Linked DNA regions of Homo sapiens: regions 1, 2, 3 and 5 are each linked to region 4. The links are contacts of gene promoters, found by promoter capture Hi-C in human tissues and cell types (Jung and others, 2019). All regions are on one chromosome and are shown on one strand. Each heading gives the region's core, a stretch centred on a gene start or on the middle of the fragment in contact. The rest is flanking DNA. Distances are from core to core; before and after follow the strand shown. Region 1 overlaps CADPS2 (calcium dependent secretion activator 2). Region 2 overlaps CADPS2 (calcium dependent secretion activator 2). Region 3 overlaps SLC13A1 (solute carrier family 13 member 1). Region 4 holds the start of CADPS2 (calcium dependent secretion activator 2). Region 5 overlaps CADPS2 (calcium dependent secretion activator 2).

The links. Contacts are between HindIII fragments. The study calls those that stand out against the background at their distance.
Region 1: a contact is called between a fragment that was not itself captured here and the fragment with the promoter of CADPS2 in region 4, in 1 of the 25 tissues and cell types used here (H1 embryonic stem cells).
Region 2: a fragment that was not itself captured here is called in contact with the fragment with the promoter of CADPS2 in region 4 in 1 of the 25 tissues and cell types used here (heart left ventricle).
Region 3: a fragment that was not itself captured here is called in contact with the fragment with the promoter of CADPS2 in region 4 in 1 of the 25 tissues and cell types used here (hippocampus).
Region 5: a fragment that was not itself captured here is called in contact with the fragment with the promoter of CADPS2 in region 4 in 1 of the 25 tissues and cell types used here (H1 embryonic stem cells).

The regions. Positions count from the first base shown.
Region 1 is chr7:122,533,566-122,536,265 of GRCh38, forward strand. The region is part of intron 8 of CADPS2 (calcium dependent secretion activator 2); the gene reads right to left. All of the region lies in intron 2 of LOC105375481 (a long non-coding RNA gene), which reads left to right. Among named protein-coding and RNA genes, the nearest start is that of RNF133, 160 kb to the right of the region's middle. The HindIII fragment of the contact is 4,878 bases long and covers 1-2,700 here.
Region 2 is chr7:122,420,633-122,423,332 of GRCh38, forward strand. The region is part of intron 17 of CADPS2 (calcium dependent secretion activator 2); the gene reads right to left. Among named protein-coding and RNA genes, the nearest start is that of FEZF1, 120 kb to the left of the region's middle. The HindIII fragment of the contact is 3,745 bases long and covers 1-2,700 here.
Region 3 is chr7:123,180,001-123,182,700 of GRCh38, forward strand. It overlaps SLC13A1 (solute carrier family 13 member 1), which reads right to left. Exons shown (of 15, transcript NM_022444.4): 2 at 973-1,101. Among named protein-coding and RNA genes, the nearest start is that of SLC13A1, 19 kb to the right of the region's middle. The HindIII fragment of the contact is 3,497 bases long and covers 1-2,700 here.
Region 4 is chr7:122,885,031-122,887,730 of GRCh38, forward strand. It overlaps CADPS2 (calcium dependent secretion activator 2), which reads right to left and starts at 1,430. Exons shown (of 30, transcript NM_017954.11): 1 at 969-1,430. The coding sequence starts at 1,307. RefSeq lists an enhancer at 718-767 and silencers at 1,128-1,257, 1,298-1,347, 1,358-1,437, 1,508-1,667, 1,678-1,837. The HindIII fragment of the contact is 17,974 bases long and covers 1-2,700 here.
Region 5 is chr7:122,579,952-122,582,651 of GRCh38, forward strand. CADPS2 (calcium dependent secretion activator 2) reads right to left here. Exons shown (of 30, transcript NM_017954.11): 7 at 1,228-1,339. Among named protein-coding and RNA genes, the nearest start is that of RNF133, 120 kb to the right of the region's middle. The HindIII fragment of the contact is 4,038 bases long and covers 1-2,700 here.

The DNA.
Region 1 (2,700 bases), core at 194-2,693, 350 kb before region 4:
TGCATTTACCTCTTTGTGTTTCCCTTAGCTTCCTTAAGCACATGTATTTCTCATATGAAATATCCAGAAGTCTCATGTTATTTTATGCCAATTAACAAATTGCTAACATGTCATGTTAATAAAAAAAGCAATTGACCTAAGTAGAAGAGCTAATTACATGGAGTAAGATAATTAAACGATTCTCAATATGTAATCAAAAATTATGGCTGGAAGTGTTTCACAATGTTGTCTTTTTGTTTTCAAGTATCTGCCTATCTGCAAAATTCTAATCAGTGTATCCATATGCATAAAAGACAGATCCAGTGCAGATGTTAATTTGTTGCATGATAGAAATCAGGTGTTCAATTACAAATAATGGGGTGTATGAGAGAACGTCCAAGATTTCCATTTAGCCGAACGCATGCATCTCTGCTGGCAAATGATTGCAAAGCATTCATATTGGAATTAGCTACTAACATGCACCCAAGGCACATCACATTCAACTCCTTTATTATCCTCATTATATAATATTCACATCTCCAGCTCTGTGTATTACCTAATTTGCCAATGATTTAGGAGTCTGAACATTTGCTGATCTGAATTCTATTTATTGCACCTGAATTCTTTTAAAAGCGTGATTCTGATTTTTATCTAAACTCTAGACAACTTTAATATGAGGGATTTTGTTTCCTAATCTTACATTTAAACAATCAAAATCATTTGCTTTTGTAGTAAGGTAAATTCCTTGAACTGATATGATCAGTTCAAAATAGGCTAAGCTTTTAACATATCAAGACTATTTCAACAATGCCTCCCAACATAGTCTCTAAGTGATATTTCAGCAAAGTAACTACACAGAGGAGAGCAAATATATTTACTAGGCTGAAAGATATTATGCAGATTTGTTTTTCATATAATTCACTACAAAGTCACAGGCTTAAGGCATAGTTATAAATTGAGATATTCACCATGCCAAACTTACAAACTGATACAATTCTGAGATGAGAAATAAATGTCAAACTGATGATGAATTTTATGTCCTAACTCAAGACCCTAATATTTAGAGTTTGTAAATTATTGAGTAAATATAGGCCAGGCCTCAGATAGCCACAGAAGAGATAATTGATTTGATGGCAGATTAACAGTAATGTACATCAATGGAAATGTCATTATTTTTAATAAATGACATGAAGAAAGATTTAAACAGGAAAAAAGTGCATTTTTAATTCCTTTCATTCTCTTATTTCAATGAAATCAATTTCAAAATATGTGAATATCCAAGGTTCCTTAGCCACTAAGAAAAGAAGCAAATACAGTTTCTGAGTATGTGGCAATTAGCAGAACCTCTAAATTATTCAAAAGTAGTAATGGGGAGGGATGTTTCTATAAACCAAAAAATAAAAAATGGTGACTCATGGACCAAATCTGGCTTGCCAATGTGCTTTGAAAGCTGAGCATTTAAAAATATATTTTGAAATCCCTTTTGCAGGACATGTTCTCCTGATTTCTATAATCCTGATACTTCCAGTCCTCATGACTTTTAACCTAATCACTTTACACAAGTATTTGAGTTGCCTGGCCTCTGGTGGTACTTGAGTATCGTGAACTGACAGTGATCACTTAAAGAGAAAAGTATTTTGTATTAGTAGGTGGTGTTGCCTAGCAGTTTAGAGAATAAGCTCTGGAATCAGACAAGTGAGTTCAAATCATGGTCACTTATTAGCTATATGGCTTTGGGCAAATTTCTTAACCTCCTTATGACTCAGTGATCTTGTTTGTAAGTTGGTATCATCATACCTATCACATAGTGTTGTAAGAACTAAATAAGAATATTATTTAATGTGATAGATTCTTCAAATGTATTTAATCTACTATATCTGGATGTCAGAGATGTAAGAAGTCATATGTTTGGATCAGCTTGCTAATTAGAGTAGTAGCTGAGTACTCTAAAAAGGTAATAGTATACCAGATAATAAATATGTTTTATTTTTATAAAGTCTGTTAAAGAACCTTTCCAGTATGTTCACAAGACTTTTACAAAACAGGCATAATTACCAGAATTATCCTATTGATATTGACCACACATTCCTGTAAGAACTAGTAGAGAATATTGCTGTATCATTGATGAAAACAAATATATATTTGGATTTTTGATAATAACTCATGCAAATAGATCTTGTTTTAAAGCCTAATGGCAAGAGTTGTAGATTGATGGGATGATATACTGAGCCCCACATCAGTGAAAGTGACTTGTGTCTCTTGGGACCTTTTAAAACTTTTACAAAAATTCCACTGCGAGTCTTACTCTCACGTTTTCCAATAATACTTTATCAAGCATTTGATAAAGTGAGGATAAAGAAGGATAACAAGACCTTAGAGGAAACCCTAGACTATTAGCACCATATCTACCCAACTGAACTAAGTGGCTGCTGTGAGGCAGTCCTAAACTATCTCCCTACTGGGAAGAGAGACAGAACCTGTAGCATGACAAGGCATCCTTATACAAATTGCCTTTTGTAATTGGGTTTCTCCAAACCTAAATTTTATAATGTAAATTTATCTCCACAGAATAAAGCAAAACAAAACAATATTAGACAAATGATATCCTTTTGCTTTTAAGAAAAATGAATAGTTGTAGAATAGTTATAAATTATAGTTACTGAATAATGAACAGACTAGAAAAATAGAAGTATTTAAGATTATTTATTAGGGACCTGTTAA
Region 2 (2,700 bases), core at 27-2,526, 460 kb before region 4:
TCACTCATTTTGTAACATTTCCAAAGCATTACAGATGGCTCTACATCCTTCAAGCTTCACACCAAATTGCTGATTGTTGTAATACATTTCAAACAGTGACATTTAAAACAAACATGCCAAAAGTAGCAAAGTTGCTTGATGAATTTCAATGCATTGTTCTTGGCTATGATTCTTCTTTGCTCTGGAACACTTTTGGTTTTCTGTAACACTCCTTGGCTCATTGAAACAATTCATTTTTAATTATACCTCCATACATTTAAGAAGAGATCCTACTGGGGAAGGGGAGGGAGGATGGAAAGATGTAAAAAGACAGCTCGACTGTTTGCTTTGGTAGGGTTTCATTCTACTCCATGGCTTAGAAAGGGGCATATCTCCTGGCACACTGGACTGGGCTGCCTCCCTTGCTGCTATTCCCTGTCAAAGTCCCCGTGATGGATGCACAGTGATGCTCATGGTGAAGCTTATACCAGGATGTGGGAAGAAGACCAGTGAGATACCTTCCTTTTTATCCGTATATGATATGTAGTAATTTGTCATGCTTTGACCTTAACTTTAAAATTTTTTAAATTGATGAAAAAGTATTTGCTAATAACCCTACATGATGATTTATGTATATATTATGTAACAATTGTCACAAATTAATTTTGATGAGAGATTTTAAATGTCCTCACCTCCACTCACCATGATCTTAAATTTAATGAGCTGATTGTATCTGTACTTGCAGCTAAACAATAAATAGTGTTGAAGATGGTGTTAGACTGAAGGACTATGGAAATAATTCCATTCCAATACTGCCCTATCTTCTTCCCTCCTTTGCATCTAGGCCATGATGATCAGCTAGGGAGCATGAAAAAATAATTCCTGTATATGCATTCATTTCTTCTTTGGTTTTTAAACTCCTCAGATTCCGTGGCCCTGAATTTGATTCAACAAACATTTTATTCCATGTAAGGTACTTCGCTAGCCACTGAGGGGATACAATGATTAAAAAGATATTATTTCTGCCTTCAAAGAATTTACATATATCTCTTTCTAACCAGATTATAAGGTAGAATATGGCAACCTATAATCCATTTCTGGTCAACATAAAGAAGATCTGTTATAAAGTCTGTAAAGAGAGTGAATTAAATGTAAGCAGTATGTAAGAACAGGGTTATTAGCTTGCAAGAAATAGGATCAAAGATGCATCAATAAGAAGGCTTTAAATTGCTGTGTATATCATATGGAGTTTTTCAGAATGAAATTATTGTGGTGGGTATGTGTTCGAGTTTAGAAAGCTAGCAACAGTCCAAAGTGGAAGTCTTTCACCTCTTCCCCCTCCCATTCAGAGAAAAGCATTCACTCACTCCTCTGCTTCTTCCCTCTCCAGCTAATGACTATATATCAGATGGATAATGAAAAAGTCCTGACGTTCAGGAGATGGCTGAGGTGAGAAACACAAAAATCTTCATAAGGGACTATAGGGATAACTTCAGAAAATCAGAAAAGAGGTGTGGAAAAAGGGAGAAAATGGGAAAATATCTACTATCTAGTGAAACAAGGGAAAGGAAGGACTATAGTTTGGCAATAGCAGGGATATGAGCACAAGGAAGCAGTCACCTGGGGCACTCTCTGAAGTGAGGCCCAAACAGCGAGGCTTTACCTTGAGAGCCTGTAAAGAACAAGGACATTACGGCCAAAGGCACAGCATCTAATTTCTTCTACGTGGAACCCCAAATGTCAGCCAGTAACAAGGACTGTCAGCCTACTCTTGTGGACTGCTTGCTGGCAAAACTTATCTACCATTAGGCCCAGCTGAAGAAATGGTGGAATGGATCCTTCCTTTTCCCTCTCCCCACTAAAGGAGATAGTGATTGATCCCCTAGCTGTTCCCCCTGCAGAAATATAAAGCAACATTACATTACACACTCTCACACACATATACACAATGCTTTGGGCACATAAACAAATTGTTCTAATTACAGAGATCAGAAAATACTCTATCTTAGGTAACTCATCAATGTTAGATGCCTTCTGTTCATTTATAAACCATAATCCCCTGGCCAGGCACGGTGGCTCATGCCTGTAATCCCAGCACTTTGGGAAGCTGAGGTGGGTGGATCACTTGATATTAGGAGTTCGAGGCCAGCCTGGCCAACATGGTGAAACCCCGTCTCTATTAAAAAAAAAAAAAAAAAATAGCCTGGCGTGGTGGCACACGCCTGTAATCCCAGCTACTTGGGAGGCTGAGGCAGAAGAATTGCTTGAACCTGGGAGGCAGAGGTTGCAGTGAGCCGAGATCGCGCCACTGCACCCCAGTCTGGGTGACAGAGTGAGACTCCGTCTCAAAATAAATAAATAAAAATAAAAATAAATAAATAAACCATAAGTCCCTTTAGTCTACCTTAGCTAGCCAGGGAATTTCTACTGGATCCCCAGTCTACTCTAATTTGAATCTTAACTCTGATATCAACATCCTCCCTCTTTGCATAGTACAGACTGATGACTCAGTTGGAAAGTCTAAATTTTTATCTAGATTTTCTGACCCTTCCTCCAGCTCTGGCCATAGCAACCTGTGGTAAGTTACATGGTGCCAAAGTCTAGGGCAAGTAGGCTCCAGGAGGTCAATCCTGGCCACATCTCAATACTTATAGGCTTTCTTATTTCAAGATAAGAGAGTGGGAAATTAGGTACTTCCTTGCCCATTAAAAAAACAACCCA
Region 3 (2,700 bases), core at 154-2,653, 290 kb after region 4:
AATGTCAGCCTGGAGGCAAGAGGAACTGAAGTACAGCCCTGGCCAGTCTTCCAAATCAATGGCCATTAGAAAGAAAAGACTCGAAGTTAGGTGGGAGGGGAAAACCCAGTAAGAAAAGAGGATCAGGGAGGATAAAAAGTGCAAAAAGATCGACTGGGGCTCCAAAATCAGGAAGAAGGACGTGAAAATAAAGAAGGGAACCATTCCTTTCACAGGAAGAAATGTAATCAAGGGTTTGTTAAAAAGAAAATGACAGACAGGTAAGCCTCAAGAGAGCAATGTTAGACCCAGGCAGAAGATAGAAGTCCAAAGGTGATAAATTGCACTGACTGGTATCTCGAACTTAACATCTTTCTTGAGATTGTTTCAGCTGTGGTTTAGACAGTTGTTCACTGGGTGGCTGGAGACTGGTTTCAATGCGTTTGGGAAACCAAATCCACTTTCTTCAGATGGGTACTCTTAGATTGTATAGAACAAATAAACACCTCTTAGCATGAATAAACTCCTCTCAGCAAGAACAAAATGGAGCTATACATGAACATTAGTTTGGCTTTATCTTTTGAAATGGCAGGTTTCTGGAAATGAAAACAGGGAAACTTTTTCTTCATTAAAAACAAAATTGTTTTTCCAACACCGTGAGGCTGAATTCTGCTGAATATAAAAAGCTTATGGAGGATGTCAACAAATTTCCCTGTTTTTGAGAGGGAGGCACTAGGCATAGATGTCAGTGAGAGAAGAGGGGACATACATTTCTCCCACTGACATGCATGACTCAAGAAGCTGCAGCTTGTGTTTGTTCTTTGAAGGTGGACACACATGCAGAATGCCAGAGAGGAGAAACAGTTGGAAGTTTGGGGGACTTATGTGGAACCTTACCAACGAGATGATTGCTCCCTTTAAAAATAACTTTTCTCAATGGAAATCTCAATACAAAACAGGAAATCAACTTATGACATTGGCAAGAGGACTTACCTTCTTAGAAGGCATGATCCCAAACATGGGTAACATTAAACTAGGTAGCAAAGCTGTTACCGACAGAGGCAATGCTTCTGTGAGCCAAAATGTGGCGACCACAAAGAGTGTGTAGGCACATTCTGCTTCCTGGTAAGAACAAATGCAAAGCAAAAGGTGATATTATGAGGCTGGAGAAGTCAACATTCAAACACAAACATGTTTGCTTAATAGAGCCATGTCACAGAGAACGTAAGAAGATCTGAAGACCTCTGCATCTTTGAGTTGCCCTCAAATACTCATTTCTTAGAAGTTCTAAGAAGCAAAATTTAATAAACATAAAAAACTAAAGGGAGAAAAAAATCCCCATTCATTACATTTATTTCACATTTCCCTCAAAAGAGATAATCTAGTCCATTTTCTTGCTCATATTAGTGTATATAGATGTTTCTACTCACTTTCCTTTGGCCTATAAAATGCACTCCCCCATACTTCCAGAGTACAGAAATAGCCAAGTTACAGCCTTTCCCCTGGGGGCAGGATACCTGCCTTTTAAATGCATTCCTTGGTGCCTGGTTGAGTGGGACCTAAGCACTCCTGCCTTCCTCTCCTTCTAACTAAAAGGGGAAAACCAACCTAGGAGAAACCTTTGCCGTACTGTGTCTCAGAGAAAAGACATGACAAGTTGTGTGGCATGGAAGAGCCTGAATGCTACTCTTAATAGAATCTGTTGCTTTGCTTAGTATAAAACTATAGGTTCATGTTTTAGGGCATTGTTAAGAGATGGTCAAAATTTATCATTATATTTAACTTATATAGATAACTTTGGTATGAAATCACCTGGAACGTTCTAAGTCTTTAGTAAAGGTTAGCAGCTATCAAATGGTGCTATTTTGCTCTCACAGTGCTTACTCTCTGCAAATTCTGAGTTGCATTTGAAAAATTTACAAAAACTGCTGTTTAGGTTGAATGAAGTTATTAAGCTTTTATTTTTGTCTGGCACTACTGCTGTCTGATTCAACTGCCTCAGGGTGAGTCCTTGGGGCTTGGGATTTACTTGACCAGCATCCCTACACTTCCAGTGCATTTCTAAGATATCCTTAATAAGCCAGGATTAGGCAGTACCTTTATTGTGTTATCTATTTAAAGGAGAAAGAATGAAAGTGTTTTGATGTTGACAGTTTCATACAGAGTCTGCTTCTACCATCTTGATAAACAATAAAACAACAAAACAAAGCTGAGCCTTGAATGGATCTTCCTGAACAGCTCTAGAGAGAATTGTGTATACTAGCTTAAATTAAAATGCCAGCATGGAAGAAAGGTTGTGCATTTTCTCTTAATGAGAACACATGGATAGCCTGAAAGTTCCTGTTATGACTTTATGTTTTCCATCATACTTGTAAGAACCTAGGTTGCAGAGATAAAATGGACCACTTTTAATCTTGCTCTCTAGTTACAACTAGCCACTATCTTGATCCTATTTATTCCCCAGTCATTATATCTCTCAAATCTGCCCCTCCACCCACTTCCTCCACTGCAGGCAAGACTATTCCAATATCAGGTCACTTTCCAAGAATCCATTTTGTATTTGGCATTCCCTTACAGAAAGCCAGATACAGGTCTAGCCACCCTGACAACTATCTGGAGCACCAATCTATGAGGGTCTGCTAAAACATCAAAAAATAAATAGAATACATAGTGCTAGCTGGTTCTGTTCACCATATACACCCCCTGCCTTAAGTGTTGAAC
Region 4 (2,700 bases), core at 180-2,679:
CTAGGTCTTGTCACAAACTGAGGGAACTGTTACCGATTTCTACAGAACCTTCCAGGTTCAGCATTCTATTAAAAAGATTTCCTAGAGTTTGTATTGTAAACATTTAACCACTTAGGACAATTTGAGTCATTACTCGTGTCTGGTACAGAACATCAGGCCCCTGGGGTCTTGTTTTGAAACTCAAGTTGGCCAGCCTTTCACCTGAAACAAACTTCTTACCTTTTGGGGGAGAATAAGCATTTTGTTCCCCAAAAAAGCATTTGGAAAGCATTTGTTATGAAGTGATCATGCACCAATCCTTTATCTTTCATCAGTAATAGTATATTTCATTAATCAGGCCTGCCCAGACCAGAAATTACTTACCCACAAACACTTTACAAAGCTGCATGCCTTCTCGGTGTTTGGATTTGATGTCCTGGTTGTATGACAATATAGGAAACGTATTAATTTAACTTTTTTATTCACTGAGGAAAATTTCTACCCCTCTTAAGTGAAGACTTCACTCTAGCTAAGAGAAGTACTCGGGCTCCACCTGTTTCGCCTAGCTACAACACTCATTCAGACCCTCGGCAAACCCAGCTCTAGCAATATCACGCCAGGCTAGGTGGACAGGAATGCACCAGTGCTGTTGGAAATTAAAGTTGATGGGAGTTGCATTCTAATCCGGCCAGAGCTGCGCCTGCCGGGTGCAACCGCGGCGCGGCCGGCGCTGTCGGTCTCTGTCTCACGGATGGTGAGCTGACAGCTCCTGCCAGCCCAGGCGGGGAGGAGGAGAAGAGGTGTCCGCTGCAGCCGCATACCCGGCGGGTGAAAGCACCGTCTTGTCCCCAAAGATTCCTCTGCCCTCAGAGACTAACAAAAATACGGTGTCCTGCGTTTCGCAGAAGGACGGGAGGCGTCCCAGAGCTCTCCCGGGAGAAAAACCCAGGGAGAAGTGGTGGTAGGAGGCGCCCGGTCCCGCAACTCACCTTCTGCTGCCTCCGGGCCATGTCGGTGGGCTGCTTGGCGTTGAAGGGGTACGCGATGCACCTCACGACGAAGACGTAGAGCTGCAGGCGGATCCTCCGCTCCTGCTCATCGTCCAGCTGCCGCTGGGGCTCGTCTCGCCCCTCGCTGAGCACAGAGGGGCTCGGGCTCACAGATCTGGCCGCGCCGCCGCCGCCCGCGCGCCCCGGCGCGTCCCGCCGCCCTTCCCGAGTCGGGGCTGGAGGAGCTCGCTGCGAGCTGCCGGCTGCCACCAGCACATCGCGGCTTTCCTCTTCCAGCCCCTCGTCCGACTCCTCTTCGCTGGAAGACGGGTCCAGCATGGTGCTCGGGGATCCCCGCCGCTCGGCCCGCGGTCCCCAAGCGCCTCACCCCCGGCGGCTGCGCCCGCGGGTCTGAGGGAGCCGCGGGGCTGGCTGCAGCGGCCGCAGAACGAAAGGAAAACTGGCCAGGGCTTTCCGGACACGTCGAGTTAGATTCAGGAGTGTTTCCTACCACCAGGGCGAAAGGGGCGGGCAGGAGCCGGGAGGAGGATTGGGAGGGGGGAGAGGGGGAGCCGCCGGGACTGAATAGGCGGAGTTAGCGTTGGGGGTGAGCTTGGGCGCCTCAGGAATTGCTCCGCCAGCCCCGGGCGCGCCGACCCAGCGGTTCCCCAGAGCCCGCCGGCAGAGGCGGAGCCGCCCGAGCGCCCGGACGCAGGTGGGGAACCTGTGGCGCCTACAACAAGCAACACGTGGAATTGAATGTTGAAGAGCCGCGCGGGGCCGCGGAGTGCGCGTGCGCGCGCCGCCGCTGCTGCCCGGGCCCGCCTGGAGCCCTAGCACACAGTTTGCAAAGGCGGGGAGCGGCCGAGCGCGATGGCCCGTGTAAGCGTCCACCGGGGCTGCTCCGACTACCCTCACCCTACCACCTGTGATCTTTTCTCCAGCAGGTGGAGGTGGAATGGGGAGCGGGGAGGGACTGTTCCCTAGCAAGAGGTTAGGGGGAGCGGCCGAGACATCTCCCCAACCCGAATCGGCTGCCTAGGATTGAACCCCAGCGCGGAAAAGCGGGACTGGAGCCCTTCACCACGAAGTATCTTTGCGACAAGACTTTGAAAAGTCTCACTCTGCTCTGCTGCCGTTTTGATACTCATGCTGAAGCCCAAATTATAAAAGTCGGAGTAATGAAAAAAAAAAGAAAACCAACGAGGCTTACTTTTTAAACTGTTCTAGTCCTGCAGACTCAAGGCAAGAGAGATTTTATATGTGCAAAATGATACTGATTCAGCTCAAACATATCTCGATTATTTTCTGGGTTGGGATGCAGTTGACTCAAAACAGGTTGTGTAGTGTGGACATTTATTCAACAAAGATTTGAGCGCCCTCCCGGTGTCCAGCACTGTTAGCCTTTTGCGGAGCCCGCGGTGACTAAGGCACATGACACTCAGTCGCTGGTGGTTCTGGCCTCAAGTCGGCGTCTTGTAGCTGCGCTGAAGCCTGCCTTATCTGCGCAGATTTCTCAGTCCTAGTGCTGGAACCACCTAGGAGTTTCTTATAGTAATTCTGTATCTTATGTCCTAAGTCCTGACAGAGGGGGAAATAGGCAAAACAATGCATTCAACACCAGGTGGAGTGTGCAGCGACCAGGTGGGCAGGGAGGTGATGAAGTTCAGTGGAAATAACACAGGGCAAATTAACTACCAGCTCTGAGCTCCTCTACCACCATGGTCAAACA
Region 5 (2,700 bases), core at 90-2,589, 310 kb before region 4:
GAAGAAAAGGGTCTGAAACTAATAGAAATCCTGACTTCAGTTTTTTAAAAAATTTCTAGTATACAGAATGATCCTAGCATCTTTTTGCATCTAGCACTGTACAAGCAGTCCATTAATACCAGACAGAAATTTTCAAGTAAGATTTCTGAAGGTTTTATTTGCTGGAAAATATCTCTGAATACAGTCTTCAGGTCTAGGTAAGATAGGTTCACATTACAGAGGGCGGGTGTTGGTGGCTTATGCTTGTAATCCCAGCATTTTGGGAGGCTGAAGCGAGTGGATCACTTGAGGTCAGGAGTTCAAGACAAGCCTGGCCAAGATGGTGAAACCCCATCTCTACTAAAAATACAAAATTTAGCCAGGCAAGGTGGTATGTGCCTGTGGTCCCAGCTACTTGGGAGTCTGAGGCACAAGAATCGCTCGAATCTAGGAGGTGGGTTGCAATGAGCCGAGGTTGTGCCACTGCACTCCAGCCTGGGCAACAGAGCAAGATTCTGTCTCAAAAAAAAAAAAAAACCCATTAAAAAATTCACATTACAGAAGACATCTTCATATAGACTACTCAATTAGAACACCTACTTCATTTATAAGTCTGAAGATGACCTTTCACACAGATTTACCTAATGTTAATGCTTTTACTGACAGCACAAGCTGAGTATAGTAAGGGTATACTGGGATTAGAAGGTAAACATATATATATTCTAGGTATGAAGAGGTGACTATAGGAAAAGAATAATGTTAAAAGGTGTGAGAAAAAGGGCTTTTCATGGGGAAAGTGGAAAAGATAAGAGAGACAGATGCACTTCGGAGATATTCTGTGATTAATCACAATGAACATGAAGAGCAGATGATTTCAAATATAAAGATGATCCTTTGAACCCAGGGACAAAAATATGTTACATGAGAATTACCCTTCACCAAGAGCAAGTTGGCCAGCACCATTCACATTCAATGGCCAGTGGAGCACATGTGTGAGAATGACTGAGTTGGTGACAAGGAATTTGTATTTACCCCTTACACAACCAAATCCTATCACAATACTTTCTGTGTTATAGACAATTAGATTTAATAAATTAGAGGTGTATACTGGGCTTGTGGGAAATAACAAATTATTTTATGTAATTTATGAACATAAAGTTCACATATGGCATACTGATCTACCTTAATCATGAATCCAAAGAAGTTAAAACTGTTCTACCCTGGACACACAGGCTGACCACAACTCACCCTTCCCAGTTCTTTATCTTCCAGGGCCAGAACTCCAGTGCTTTCTGTGAAGAGTTTCACTTTGACCACAGGCCGAGGATGGGTGGTGGTGAAATCTCCTTGAGTCCCCCATCTGTAATGAAGTAAAAAAAATGTTTCTTAAAATGCAGCATTATTTTTTTCCCCAAGGAGATGTGTCTCCATAGAAGGCAAATTAAATACAGAATCTTCTGTGCTCAATGAGCTTTTTATCTTTGCTTTTGTTTCTAGCAGATGGCACAATCAAGAAGGAAAAGAACAATAAGCTTTACAGCTTGTAATAGTTACTCAGCTATTCAAAAAATTAGCATGTTGGACTATAAAAAATTGCATGTTATGAGAATTTAGGTTAAGGTAAAGCAATATAGTTGTAGCTATTGAAATCTATTACTTTATTAATTCAAATGTAAATTATAGCACCATTTTTACTGGCAGCTGGGAAAATTGCTCAGGGTTTGTTTACGTAAGAGAGAGTTTCTCAGAAAATGATTTTTATATACTAAAGACTTTACCCCACCTGAGAGGTCTTTATTAAACATTATCTTTTTTTAAAGTAAGCATAATTATCTCAGATCTATTACTTCATATGACTTTTGAAGCTCCTGCCAAAAAGAAAGAAATATGCATCATAAGAATCTGAATGTTTTGTAGTTAATTTCCCACTACATTCTCTTAGGAAGGGAATAAGTCTGTAGACATCTGGCTTTTGAAATCATCACAACAAAATAACATGCTTTCTTGGCTTATCTCTTAATTAATAGCATCTTGCCTTTATTGCAGACCAGTTCATTCTACCTGATTTACAAACTTAACTGGCACACACCTGATATTAAAAAATCTTATCAATATTTCTCACAACTCTGAGAGATCAGATGCAATGAGACTCAGCACAGCATGAAGAAGATGCCATTGAGCAAAATACCAGAGAAAAAAATGAGATTTAACAAAATACAGATCATGTTAAAAATAAAACAACAAATAAATATCAATTTTCTTATGCTGTCTTGAAAAAACAAAACAATTCACCATTTTCACGGAGCTGTCTACATTTTATTTTATAAATCTCATTCGGAGAGCTTACAACATACAGAAAACTCAGTAAAGCAGGTATAATAAAAATTGAACAAATAATTGTGATTGCCTTCCTCTCCTATCACAGCATTTATAATAAATGTATACAGTAAAGCAGAGACCATTTCAATGACTGAAGAAACTGGCATCTAGATGCAGTCTTTTTTTTTGAAATATCATAAGCCAGAGGGAAGAGAAGAATCAATTAGGGAAGAAAACAGCTTAATTTCTATTTTAGACTTCCAGAATGGGGTTAGCAAAGAGACTTTTTGCAATTTCATATAATTAAGATGGTTTACATAAAGCAATGGTAAAATAGGAATAAAAACAAAAATAGATTCAGAACCAAAATAAGGCATAAAGAAAAATTCTCAGTTTAGTGTT